Regions from separate parts of the Homo sapiens genome. Here region 2 is linked to region 1. Evidence: promoter capture Hi-C in 16 types of primary human blood cells and fetal thymus (Javierre and others, 2016). All regions are on one chromosome and are shown on one strand. The core of a region is centred on a gene start or on the middle of the fragment in contact, and the rest is flanking DNA. Distances in the headings are between cores, read along the strand shown. Region 1 holds the start of TMEM200B (transmembrane protein 200B). Region 2 overlaps YTHDF2 (YTH N6-methyladenosine RNA binding protein F2).

Region 1 (5,702 bases), core at 2,479-4,978:
CTTCAACGTTGAGTAAAGGGATTTCTGAGAGCTGGCCAATGCCTTTTGCCAGCTGCAGTGAGATTCTGCAGCATAGGCCACGATAAAGGAAGGAGAGAAGGGGCTTCTCAGACTTATTTGCAGAAGGGCCCAGAACTCAGTATGAAGGCATTGGCAGTAGTGTAGCTCTAGAGGGATATACCCCAGATGGCTGAGGGAAGAAAGGGATTGAGGTGGTAGGAGTTCAAGGCTCAGTCCCCGTCCCAGATGGCAGTGGAGAGTCTCATCCCGTGGTCCATCTTCCCAGAGGCCCCACACTCCATCACCAGTGCCGCCTTGGAGGGAGCCTGCCCCAGCCTGTAACATCCCAACCTACCTCCCAGTCTTAGGGGCCCTTGCCCACCACTTTCTTGGGTTTGCCAAGACACTGGGTACATCTCCCAGTCACCCTGGCCTGGACCTCCAGCCCTGTTAGGGCTAAGGCCACTTACAGAGGCTGAAGAAATTCCTGAGGCGAGTCCTCCACACCCCACAGTGAAACGCACCCTCTCCAGCTCACTGAGCCCTGGTGCAGCTGGCATTTCTCTGCCCGCATGCAGGTCAGGATGCCCTTCACAGCTGCTGTGGTCAGAGCATCCATCCCCAGCCTGGGATGTGACTGAAACATCTATTAGACGTTGGGACTCCTGGTCCTTTGGTCCTATTAGCATGGTCCATGCTGCAGCCTCAGAGCAGGCTGTCTCCCCTCTCTTCAGACCCGGGCCCCCAAGTCCCCTCCTCCTCCCAATTTGGCATAGCCCCCAAGACTGAGGCGGTCCAGCCGTGGCCAGCTTCGGTGAGCACAGTCCCGAGCTGCTGGGGCCCCAAGGAGGAGCTCCCCAAGGCCCAGATCCAGAGACTTGGAATGTTCAATGCAGGAGCCAGACGGCTGCACGGTGATGATCACATGGCCAGTCTGCGTCCGTGGACCCCAGGGTGGGGGCAGCCCGGGGCCCTTCAGCGGGTAGCTGTTGAGCAAGGCAGGTAACCCCAAGCGAGGATTAGCGGGCTCTGAACGCAGACTCCGCACTGACGGGACGGGTGAAGTACCCCGACGCGGGGACGGGTCCCAGATTTCTGGCTCTGCGCAGCCTACGGCTCGGGGACTCCTAGGGCCGGGGCTGGGAAGGAGGGCGCAGTCCCAGCCCGGGCCGTCGGGGGGCCGGAGCGCCTGGGCCCGCAGCACCCCCTGGCGGAGCCGTCGCGTCTCCAAGTCTCGGTTCTCATACAGCAGTGTGTTGGCGCAGATGAACACGAACAGGCCGACGCCCATGATCACCGGCCCGAGGAGCCGCAGCCGCTCGTGCGGGCCGTGAGCCCGGCCCCCGCCGCGACCCTCGCGTCGCAGCTCGCTCATCTGGGGCGAGCTGGCATTGGCGGCCCGGGACCCTGGGGCCCCGGCCCGGTGCGGCCAGTAGCCGGCCACTGCAATGCCCATACCCACCAGTACCACGAGCGCCCCCAGCGCCGCGAACGCCCCCGACGGCGAGCGCAGCCGCAGCCGCGCCCGCACCCGCAGAGGCTCGGGCGGGGAGCGCGGGCGCCGGCGGCGGCCCAGGCGGCGGCCCAAGCGAGAGACGCGGCCCTCGGGGCTCCTCCGCACCTCCCCGCATTCTTCGGGGCTCCCGGCCGTCATCTCGCCGTCGTCTGGGCGCTCTGCGGAGAGAAGATGGGAGGCAAGGACTGGACCGACGGGCCTCTAGCTTCAGGGCGCCAGGTTCGGGGCGCAAATCCGGGAGGGAAGCTCCGGCCGCCCAGCCCAGGCCGCTTGGAGATCCCTGGCGGCCACCCCCGGATTTTCCCGGGCGGCGAGGCGGGGAGCCGCCCGCGCTCGGGTTTTCCGCAGCGGAGCTCCGAGCCAGGCACGCGCGGCAGAAGCCGGAGTTGGCCCGGCCAGCGGGCGGAGAGGAGGGAGGGGGGCGCAGGCTGTTCCCTGGCGCATCCCGGGCTGCAAATCTGCCGCCTGCGTCCGGTCCGCAAGCCCGCGGGTCTTGGGCCTCGGGAAACGTGCGGCCCCCAGCTGCCGCGTCTCCAGGGTAAGTACCTCCCGGGCTCGACCCCACCCCCGCACGTGGCTGCACCGTAGCAAATGGGGCGGGGGCGCTCGGGCCTCCCAGGTCCGCAGGGGTCGCTCGCCGGGCCCCACCTCCCCCCTACTGTGCTTTACATACCGCAGCGCGGGAGGAGGGGGCGTCACCGGCTCCAGCCTCTCCCTGCCCGCCCCCTCCTTCCAGACCTCCTCCGCCCGCAGCGAAGCTGCAGCAGGAGCGACTTGAGCTAGACACCGGGAAGACCGCTCGGATCAAGACCAGCCAGGCAGAGGAGGAGAGGCGGCGCCGACTTCGCCCAAGATTTCCATCAAGTCCACGCATGAGAGGCCTCTCCCTCCCCCAGCGGTCGTGCTGGGGCCACGGCAGCAGGCGGGGGTGCCGGTGCCGGGCGCTGGGCCCCGCCGGACGGATGCCCTCCCGGCTCCCCCGTCGGCCCGGGCAAGGCTGTTCCCAGGTTGCGACGTTTCCAATTCGGGCTCCTCCGGATGAATCATCCCCCTTTCCCGCCGCCTGGCCTCCTTTCCCGCCTCCTCCGCCCGAGGCCTCCGTGGCCCGTGGCCCGGTCAGAGCAGCACCGCCCCTGCGCCTCGGGATCCGGGCCGCACAGCTTAAGCCCTCCCGATTGCTGGCCGCGCCCTGCCTGCGGCCTGTGGCCTGGATCCCGGGCCCAGCAGGAGTAGCCGAGCTGCGTGCGGTGTGGCCCCCACGAAAGGGAGGGCGAGGGAGAAGACGCGGCCCCCGCCCAGGCGCCCCAGGCCGCAGGAGAGGAGGCTCAGGGCCTAGCTGTCCAGGGTCGTCCTCACTGCTCGCGTCCGCTTCCTAAAGAACCACCGCGCTGGAGCCCGCAGCCGAAACCTCGGGGAGGCGGCCTTGCTCCCCGACCCACGCCCCATCTGCACCCCAAACCTCAAAGCAGGACACCCATCCCTGCCTCCGACTGGAGCGCTCAAGGCCCGGGCCTAGCAGGGAGCCGCCACTCTCCCGCGTCCAAAGCCTGGTTTCACAGATTGCAACTACGGCCCAGGGAGGCCGGGGAGACTGCCCGACCCCGCACTAGGCGGGGGCTCTGCCAGGTCCGACGCCGGGCTCCGGGGCCCCAGCCCTAGACCCCTCTCAGGACAGCCACGGGAGTATCCAGGAGGAAGCGAGGCCCATCCCCTCCTTGTCCCTGAGTTTGCAGCCCTTTCCCCAGCCCGCAACCGGAGGAGCGATCATCGCTTCAAGCCAGAACTGGCGCTCTCAGCCCCGGCTCCAGCAAGGTCACCCGGAGCCCCGCGCGTCGCTGCCGCGAGGGAAGCGAAAACAAGCAGAGTGGGGACATGGGGACACGCTCAGAGACCCCGAGCCGTGGAGGTAGTGGGCCGACGCTGGGGACACCAGGGAGGCGGAAACTTGGGGACACAGCGCACAGCCCGACAGAAGATGCTGGGGCCGAGTCCCCAGGACTCCAGGGTCCCGCCACCGCCCGCGTCCACACTCCCGCCTGGGGGAACGGGAGGGCCGCGCTCCCGCCCCCAGGGGCCCTGACCGAGGGAGGGAGGGAGGGAGGGAGGGACCAAACGAAAAGTTGGGAAAAGTGGAGTGCGGACCCCTGGACCCCAGCTCGGCTCACCTGGCGCCGCAGCGCCGCGCGGGTCCGGGTCCCAGTCCGCGCGCGGAGGCTCCAGAGCCGCCCGGGTCTCCACGGCCCGGCCCCAGCCCCGCCCCGGCCCCGCCTCCAGCCCCCGGGACCGTCCGACCCGCGCCGGGCCCGGCCCCACCGCCGCTGAAAGGCGGCAGCTCAGGTCAAAGGATCGCAGGTAGGCGCCCTGTGCGCGCCTGGTGACTCCGGGCACCCGTGGCCCGAGTTCTGCCATCCCCACTCTCCCACCCCCAGCTTACATCGGTCGCAAAGGCCCACAAAGGCGACCCCTTCCTACATGGGGAAACTGAGACCCGGGACCCAGGAGCCCCGACACCCGCACGTCCTTCCCCGCTTCCCAGAGCCCCTCATCCCAGGCGCCCGGGGAGCTTCCAGGAGGAGGCGGCCCGAGTCCCTGCTCTGCCCCGGTCCCGCAGCCCTTGCTGTCGCTGAACCTCGCGGACTTCATCTGTGCAATGGGCACCAAGGCTTCAGCCTCGCAAGATGCCGAGAGGCAAGAGCCAGACGCCAAGGGCCAGCCCGGGGCGACTCCGCAAAGCCCTCAGCGAAAGCAGCGCCCGGGGAGGGGCGGGCCTTGTAGCTGAAAGGACCGGACGGGGTGCGGATGTGCCGCCGGGTACTCCTAAGAACAGGCGCCCCTTCGCCAGTGGGGGAGCGGGCTTGTTCCCAATAACGGGGAGGGTGCTGAGAGCTGCGACCCCGCCGGCGAGCCCGAAGGGGGCGGCCCGGCCTTCGCGCCCTCCCGCCCCTGGAGGCAGGAATGCAGAGCGGGGGAGCCAGGGCGGCCGGCGGTCGGCCCAGTTTCCATGATGCGGGGGGCGGGTTCGGGGGAGGCGGCGACCGATTTCCAGGCTCAGCGGTCAGGCCGGGCCCCCCGGGAGGAATTTCCGGCCTAGGATTGATTAAGGCCCGCCCCTCCCCCCGGCCGTGGAGACCCCCGGCGCGCAGCCGGGGGGAGGGGCGCTAATGAGACCCGGCTGCGCGCCGCGGACAGGGAGGGGACCCGAGGAAGGGGCGGGCCAGGGGCCGGGGCCACCCCCCGACGCGGGGCGGAGCCGGGTCCCGGAGCCGCACGGCCAGGCCAGGCCTTGAACCTGAGCTCCCACCCTCTGGGTCGGCGGAGGAGAGTGGGGGTGCATCAGTGCCCCCCGGGACCCCCTCTTCCAGCTCTTAAAAGCCCCCTCGGGGGGTCGGTGAGGTAACGGGCGGACCAGAGGGACCACAGTGGGGAAGACCGAGCCTCGGCTCCCGGGCTTCATCCCTGCGAGGCCGTGTGCGAGATCGAAGCCAGGGCCTCCTTCTTGCCTCCCCAGTCCGACTGGAGGCTCCTGAGGTCTCGGTCCGCTCCACGGAGGCCTCCCTCCAGCATCTTTGCTTGGGACCCCCGCCCCCATCAATCCTCCGCTTCGTCCACTCCCCGCACACTGACCCCACCGCGGTCGCACCTCCGCCTCCCAGCTCTCCCTCCCACCCCTGGGCTCCCTCAATCCCACTCCATGCCTGCCTCTCCCAGCCCACTGCTCTTCCTCCAATAAGCCCGGCTTCTAGTCTGACTCCCTGGGCCCCTCGATCATCCCCTGCCTCCAGCTCTGTGAAGGGCCCTTTGTCCACCCAAGCACGGGGTCAGCCTTGGCCCCTTCCTCTCCCCCTCTCATCCCACTCACAGAGCCTTGGGGGCCCTGCTCTTTTCATCTGGGGCCAGCCACGTTCTCCCTTTCCCATGGCCACTGTCCTGCTCCGGCGTCCAGGCTCCTCCTGGAGCCCATGGTCTCCTGCCTCCCCGTGTCCTAGTGCGCTGCAGACAGGCAGCAAGGGTTTCCACTCTGAATCTGAGCCTGCCACTACCTGCTTAAAACCATCAGTGACTCCCCAAATCGAGTTGGAAATCTCTTCTTGTCTCCACGAACTGGCCCCGGGCCTCTTACACTCCCTCAGGGCTTGGTTGGTCCTTGCTTTCCGGCAGGAACACTTACCCCCTGGTCGTGCCCTTG
Region 2 (6,085 bases), core at 1,744-4,243, 370 kb before region 1:
ATTCTCCTGCCTCAGCCTCCCAAGTAGCTGGGAGTACAGGCAGCTACCACCATGCCCGGCTAATTTTTGTATTTTTAGTAGAGACAGGGTTTCACCATGTTGGGCAGGCTGGTCTTGAACCCTTGACTTTGTGATCCGCCTGGCTTGGCCTCCCAAAGTGCTGGGTTTACAGGCATGAGCCACCATGCCCAGCCCAAATTTTTTTAAGACTAGATTCTTCATGTCAAAAGACAAAGCTAGAACGAATGGATAGAGGTTATATGGAGAAATATTTTTGTAGATGGAAAACTTGCTAAAAACGAAGTTCTTAGTCACAGAATTTCAAGAAACTAAAAGAGATGTTATAGAAACTAAACTAGGGATGTTGTAGAGGGGGTTCATACATAGGGTAGTCTGGACTAGAGAAACCAAGGGATAAAAGAGGATTAGCTGACTCAGGATAACATTTCAGGTTTGTGAAGATGAATTTGTCCTTTGAAACAGATCTTTTTAGAAAGGTTGTTTCATAATTTCTGACCGAAGTATTTGTTACACGTAAAATAAGTAAGAACGGACTGAGGCCAGAAAGCTGTGGATGACAGAAGGGATTGGTGCATTCTCAGTGAATTTTGATACAAATTAAGTATGTGGGTAGTTTTTAAATACATTTACTATATATATATATTAATGAAAAATTGTTTCCTAAACTGTGAAAAGGCTTATTAAAGAAATTTAGAGGCTGGATGCGGTGACTCATGCCTGTAATTCCAGCATTTTGGGAGGCTGAGATGAGCACATCACTTGAGCCTAGGAGTTCAAGACCATCCTGGGCAACATGGTGAAACCCTGTCTCTACAACAAATAAAAAAATTAGCCAGGCGTGGTGGCTCGTGCCTGTAATACCAGCTAGTTAGGAGGCTGAGGTATAAGAATCGCTTGAACTTGGGAGATGGAGGTTGCTGTGAGCTGAGATTGTGCCACTGCATTCCAGCCTTTGTGACAGAGCGAGACTGTCTCAAAAAAAAAAAAAAAAAAAAGGCTGGGCGTGGTGGTGCACGCTAGTAATCCCAGCTACTCAGGAGGCTGAGGCAGGAGAATCTCTTGAACCCAGGAGGTGGAGGTTGCAGTGAGCAGAGATTTTACCACTGCACTCCAGCCTGGGTGACAGAGCGAGACTGTCTCAAAAAAAATTCAAGTTTCTGTGATATAAAAGAGGAAAACATCCTCACTTGAGCTAAATATATTAAATCCTTAGGAAGTAAATAACCATGTGATACTGTTGGCTCCCATTTAGTATCTTACCACCCCACCACTGTTTTATTGACTCTTCAGATCTAGTGAGTGGGCATCCTGTTTTAAACCAGGATGACAAACATGAGCATTTTTTGTAAAATCCTAAGGCCATCTATGTCTATTTTTGTCTTGCAGATAAATATACTTGTTTATCTGCCAAAAGGGTTAAGGAAATTTTATTTGTATTACTCATCACCTTCCTTGCTTTGTGAATAGATAAAACGCCTCTTTCTGCAGCCTCCTTAAAGGAGGACTAGAAGAGAATAGATAACATTGAATTTGTATCTCTGAACCATGCCCCTTGTATCTATCTTTCAACAAACGTTTGTGTTAATTGCTGGGATGGAACAGAGAAACAAGGCACCATCTTTGCCTTAGAAGCAGAGGGTTTTAGGAGGACAGCAAAATGGATAAAATATGGGATAAGAGCTGTAATAGAGGAATGAATACATTTTTGGCATTCTGGAGAAGTGATTAATTACTTGGGGGAAATTAAGAATTCATGGAGGCAATAACATTGGAACCCTGCCAAATAAGTAATAATAGAATGATAAGCACTCAAATGGCAGCACAGTGCTTGGCACATAGTACACACAGAAGCTTAGCTATCTTATCTAACACTGTAATTCTCATATTTCAGATAAAGGAAGAGGCTCAGAGGTTATTTATCCAAAGTCTCATAGCTAGTAAGTGTTGGAGTTGGTCTTTAACAGAAGTCTCTCCAGCGATGTGTTGGAGCTGGCTAGTTGGAGCCAGCTGTTTAGCTTTCAAGAATACCTTTCTGTACATTAAATTACATTATAATTACCATCGTATTAGGTAATATTCAAATTCCTTACTCTTGAGGTTATTTACAGCTGTTGTATCAATATATAATATGCTGTTGCACACTGATAACACATTGGTAATCTGAAATCAGCTGTGGTGTTTTTGTTGTTGTTGTTGTTTTTGAGACGGAGTCTCACTTGTTGCCCAGGCTGGAGTGCAGTGCAGTGGCATGATCTCAACTCACTGTGTCCTCCACCTCCCGGGTTCAGGGCTGCCTCAGCCTCCCAAGTAGCTGGGACTACAGGTGCTTGCCACCACTCCCGGCTAATTTTTGTATTTTTAGTAGAAGCGAGGTTTCACCATATTGGTCAGGCTGGTCTCGAACCCCTGACCTTGTGATCTGCCTGCCTCGGCCTCCCAAAGTGCTGGGATTACAGGTGTGAGCCACCATGCCTGGCCCAGCTGTTAGTTACATCGTGGAAATTGACAAATGCTGTATATAAATCAATGTTTAATTTTTGCTGATTGTCTAGACTTCATAGTGATGGAGAAAATATTGATTGCAGATTAAATTTGTGTGTCACGACTGTAGCTCTTAAACATTTTTTTTCAATAACACAAAAATTTGTCCTGCACAGTGGCTCACACCTGTAATCCCAACACTTTGGGAGGCTGAGGTGGGAGGATTGCCTGAGCTCAGGAGTTTGAGACCAGCCTGGGCAGCATAGCGAGACCTTGTCTCTACAAAAAATTTAAAAAAAATTAACCAGACTTGGTGGCGCATAACTAAAGTATAGCTACTCAGGAGGCTGAGGCAGGAGGATTGCTTGAGTCCAGGAAATGAAAGCTGCAATGAGCTGTGATCATGCCACTGCACCCCAGCCTGGGTGACAGCAGGAGACTGTCCCTAGAAAAAAAAATTTTTTTGAGGAAATATTCTAATATTTGAAAAACTATTACCCAGTTTAGCAAAGAAGTTGCTCAAAACATGTTTCATGTTTGTATATTGGAACTTACACCTGGAGAGCCACTGAGTCTCTAACCCCGAAGCTCATGGACTACTCCATGATCTATGAAGTTTGCCAGATAGAAAAGTAGAGAAATGGCTAGGTGCAGTGGCTCATGCCCGTAATCCTCGCACTTTGGGGAGGCTGCAGCAAGAGAATCACTTGAACCCAGGAGTTTGAGACCAGCCTAGGCAACATAATGAAATCCTGCCTCTCCAAAAAAAAAAAAAAAAAAAAAAAAAAAAAAAAAAAAAAAATCAGCCAGGTGTGATGAGGCACACCTGTAGTCCTAGTTGCTCAGGAGGCTGAGACAGGAGGATTGCTTGAGCCCGGGACGTCAAGTCTGCAGTGAGTCATGATGGTACCACTGTACTCCAGTCTGGGCACAGTGAGACCCTGTCTTCCAAAAAATGGCATTCTAGTAAGAGCATGTTAAAAACATAGTCTTGAGAATGCTTATGGTATGTTTTCAGAATGAGAAGTTTAATGTGGTCTAGAATGGTAAGTGATAACGCTGGAGAGATTGGTTGGGCAAGTATATGAAGAGTTTCAGGATTTTATTCTTTTTTTTTTTTTTTTTCTGAGACAAAAATCTCGCTTTGTCCCCCAGGCTGGAGTGCAATGGCGCGATCTTGGCTCGCTGCAGCCTCCCCCTCCCAGGTTCAAGCGATTCTCCTGCCTCAGCCTCCCGAGTAGCTGGGATTACAGGTGCCTGTCACCACGCCCAGCTAATTTTTGTATTTTTAGTGGTGACAGGGTTTCATCATGTTGGCTAGGCTGGTCTCAAACTCCTGACCTCAGGTGATCTGCCTGCCTTGGCCTCCCAAAGTGCTGGGATCACAGGTGTGAGCCACTGCGCTCGGCCTAGGATTTTATTCTTTACCTGTGTTTTAGTTTGGTTGTAAGGGAGGGTAGTTAATTAGGGAATAACAGTTTGGAGGATGGGAAGGATGAAACACTTACTGAGCATTGACCTTGTTAAGCACCATGCTAGGTACTTTCATAGCCTTACTTTAATCCCCATACCAACCTGGGAGGCAGTATCCTGTATTTATAGATCAACAAATGGAAGCTTAGGAAAGCAACTTATCAAAACATCTATGAGGCTGGGTGAGTTGGCTCACGCCTCTAATTCCAGCACTTTGGGAGGCCAAGGTTGGCAGGTCATTTGAGGCCATGAGTTTGATACCAGCCTGGCCAACATGGCGAAACACTGTCTCTACTAAAAATACAAAAAAATTAGCCGGGCGTGGTGACGGGCGCCTGTAGTCCCAGCTACTCAGGAGGCTGAGGCAGGAGAATGGTGTGAACACTGGAGGCGGAGTTTGCAGTGAGCTGAGATAGCGCTACTGCACTCCAGCCTGGGCGAAAGAGCGAGACTGTGTCTCAAAAAAAAAATTGGCCGGGCGCGGTGGCTCATGCCTGTAATCCCAGCACTTTGGGAGGCTGAGGTGGGTAGTTCGCAAGGTCAGGAGTTCAAGACCAGCCTGGCAACATGGTGAAACCCCATCTCTACTAAAAAATTAGCTGGGCGTGGTGGTGGGTGCCTGTATTCAGGGGGCTGGGGCAGGAGAATCACTTGAAACCAGAAGGCGGCAGTTGCAGTGAGCCGAGATTGCTCCACTGCACTCCAGCCTGGGCAATGAGAGCAAAACTTCGTCTCAAACAAACAAAAAAATTAGCCAAGAGTGGTGGTGTGTGCCTATAGTCCTATAGTCCCAGCTACTCAGGGAGCTGAGGGATGAGAATCACTTGAACCTGGGAGGCAGAGGTTACAGTGAGCCGAGATCGCAACACTGCATTCCAGCCTGGGTGACAGCTCAAAAAAAAAAAAAAAAAAAAAGGGGTGGGAGATGGCTCAGAGACTAAACGAGATGCTTTTACAGTATTCTGGGGAAAAAAAGATGATGAGGGCCTGAACCAGGACAGTGGGAACGGGAAACTGGATATGAAGAATGTGGTAGACATATTTGTTGACTAGTTTTTCAAAAATTAAAGATGATGAGAGGAGCAGCAGTTTAGGGTTAGGATTTGGGGTTGTATTGGCTTTTGGAAATAGTTTCAGGTGCCTGTGATAGTAGCAGCAGCCAGGTGATAGTAGGCAGCTGGGAATCTGGAGCTCAGATTGTTGACAGGAATTTGAATTTTCAACCCTCAGGATAGGTAAAGGCATGGAAGAGTTTGACTTTTCAAAGATTCTTGTAATAAGAATGGCTAACAGTTATTGAATGCTCTGTACAGTGTCTAGCATACAGTTGTCTTGAATATATATTTAAATGTATGTTCATTTAATTCTTGTATCCTTGTGAGGTAGGTATAAGTAGCTCAGTTTTACTGATGAAAACATTAAAACACAGAAAAGAGTAAATAACTTTGCAAAGGCACATGAGATACGAAAGTAAAGCTGGTGTTCTAATTCTGCAGCGTGGTTCTAGAGCCAACACGAGTGAGAGAAAAGGACTATGGAAAAAGTTCCCCAGAAATAACAAAATTTGAAGAATAAAGAGGGAGCAAGTGAAAGAGATTGAGAGAGAATAGTTTGAGTTTCAGAAAGAGAACAAGGAAGGGGCTATTCAGGTTGAGTATTCCTAATTTGAAAATCTGAAATGCCCCAAAGTCTGAAACTGAGTGCACACATGACACTGAAGAAAATGTTCATTGGAGCATTTCCTATTTTGGATTTTCAGATTAGGGTTGCTCAACCAGTATGTATCTACAAATATTCAAAAAATCTGAAATCCAAAACATTTCTTACCCCAAGAATTTCAGATAGGGGATACACAGCCTGTATGGAACTTCAAGCAGTATGGTAGAGTACACTTAACTCAGAGGCTGCAGAGAGGTAACAGATGACTGCAGATGCCAGTGATGTCTGTTGAATAAAAAGTTGCTTTGCTATTAGAGACTTGAAAGTTTTGATCTCCGTACTTCATTCAAAAGACTCTGCATGTTTCTTTATCTTTGTGTTTGCAGAGTCGGTATCTTTCAACCTCTGTTCCAAGCCTTAAAGAGCTATTATAAAGCTCTTTTGTTTGCCT

What was found. Contacts are between HindIII fragments. The CHiCAGO score rates a contact against its expected background, and 5 or more counts as called.
Region 2: a contact is called between a fragment that was not itself captured here and the fragment with the promoter of TMEM200B in region 1, in 2 of 17 cell types (activated CD4 T cells and neutrophils). The highest score is 5.6, in activated CD4 T cells.

The regions. Positions count from the first base shown.
Region 1 is chr1:29,120,175-29,125,876 of GRCh38, forward strand. It overlaps TMEM200B (transmembrane protein 200B), which reads right to left and starts at 3,729. Exons shown (of 2, transcript NM_001003682.4): 1 at 3,682-3,729; 2 at 1-1,674. The coding sequence starts at 1,654. The coding sequence ends at 731. RefSeq lists a silencer at 1,084-1,463 and enhancers at 3,143-4,002, 4,003-4,862, 4,863-5,702. The HindIII fragment of the contact is 10,456 bases long and covers 1-5,702 here.
Region 2 is chr1:28,750,095-28,756,179 of GRCh38, forward strand. The region is part of intron 4 of YTHDF2 (YTH N6-methyladenosine RNA binding protein F2); the gene reads left to right. Among named protein-coding and RNA genes, the nearest start is that of YTHDF2, 16 kb to the left of the region's middle. RefSeq lists an enhancer at 4,417-4,916. The HindIII fragment of the contact is 2,247 bases long and covers 1,871-4,117 here.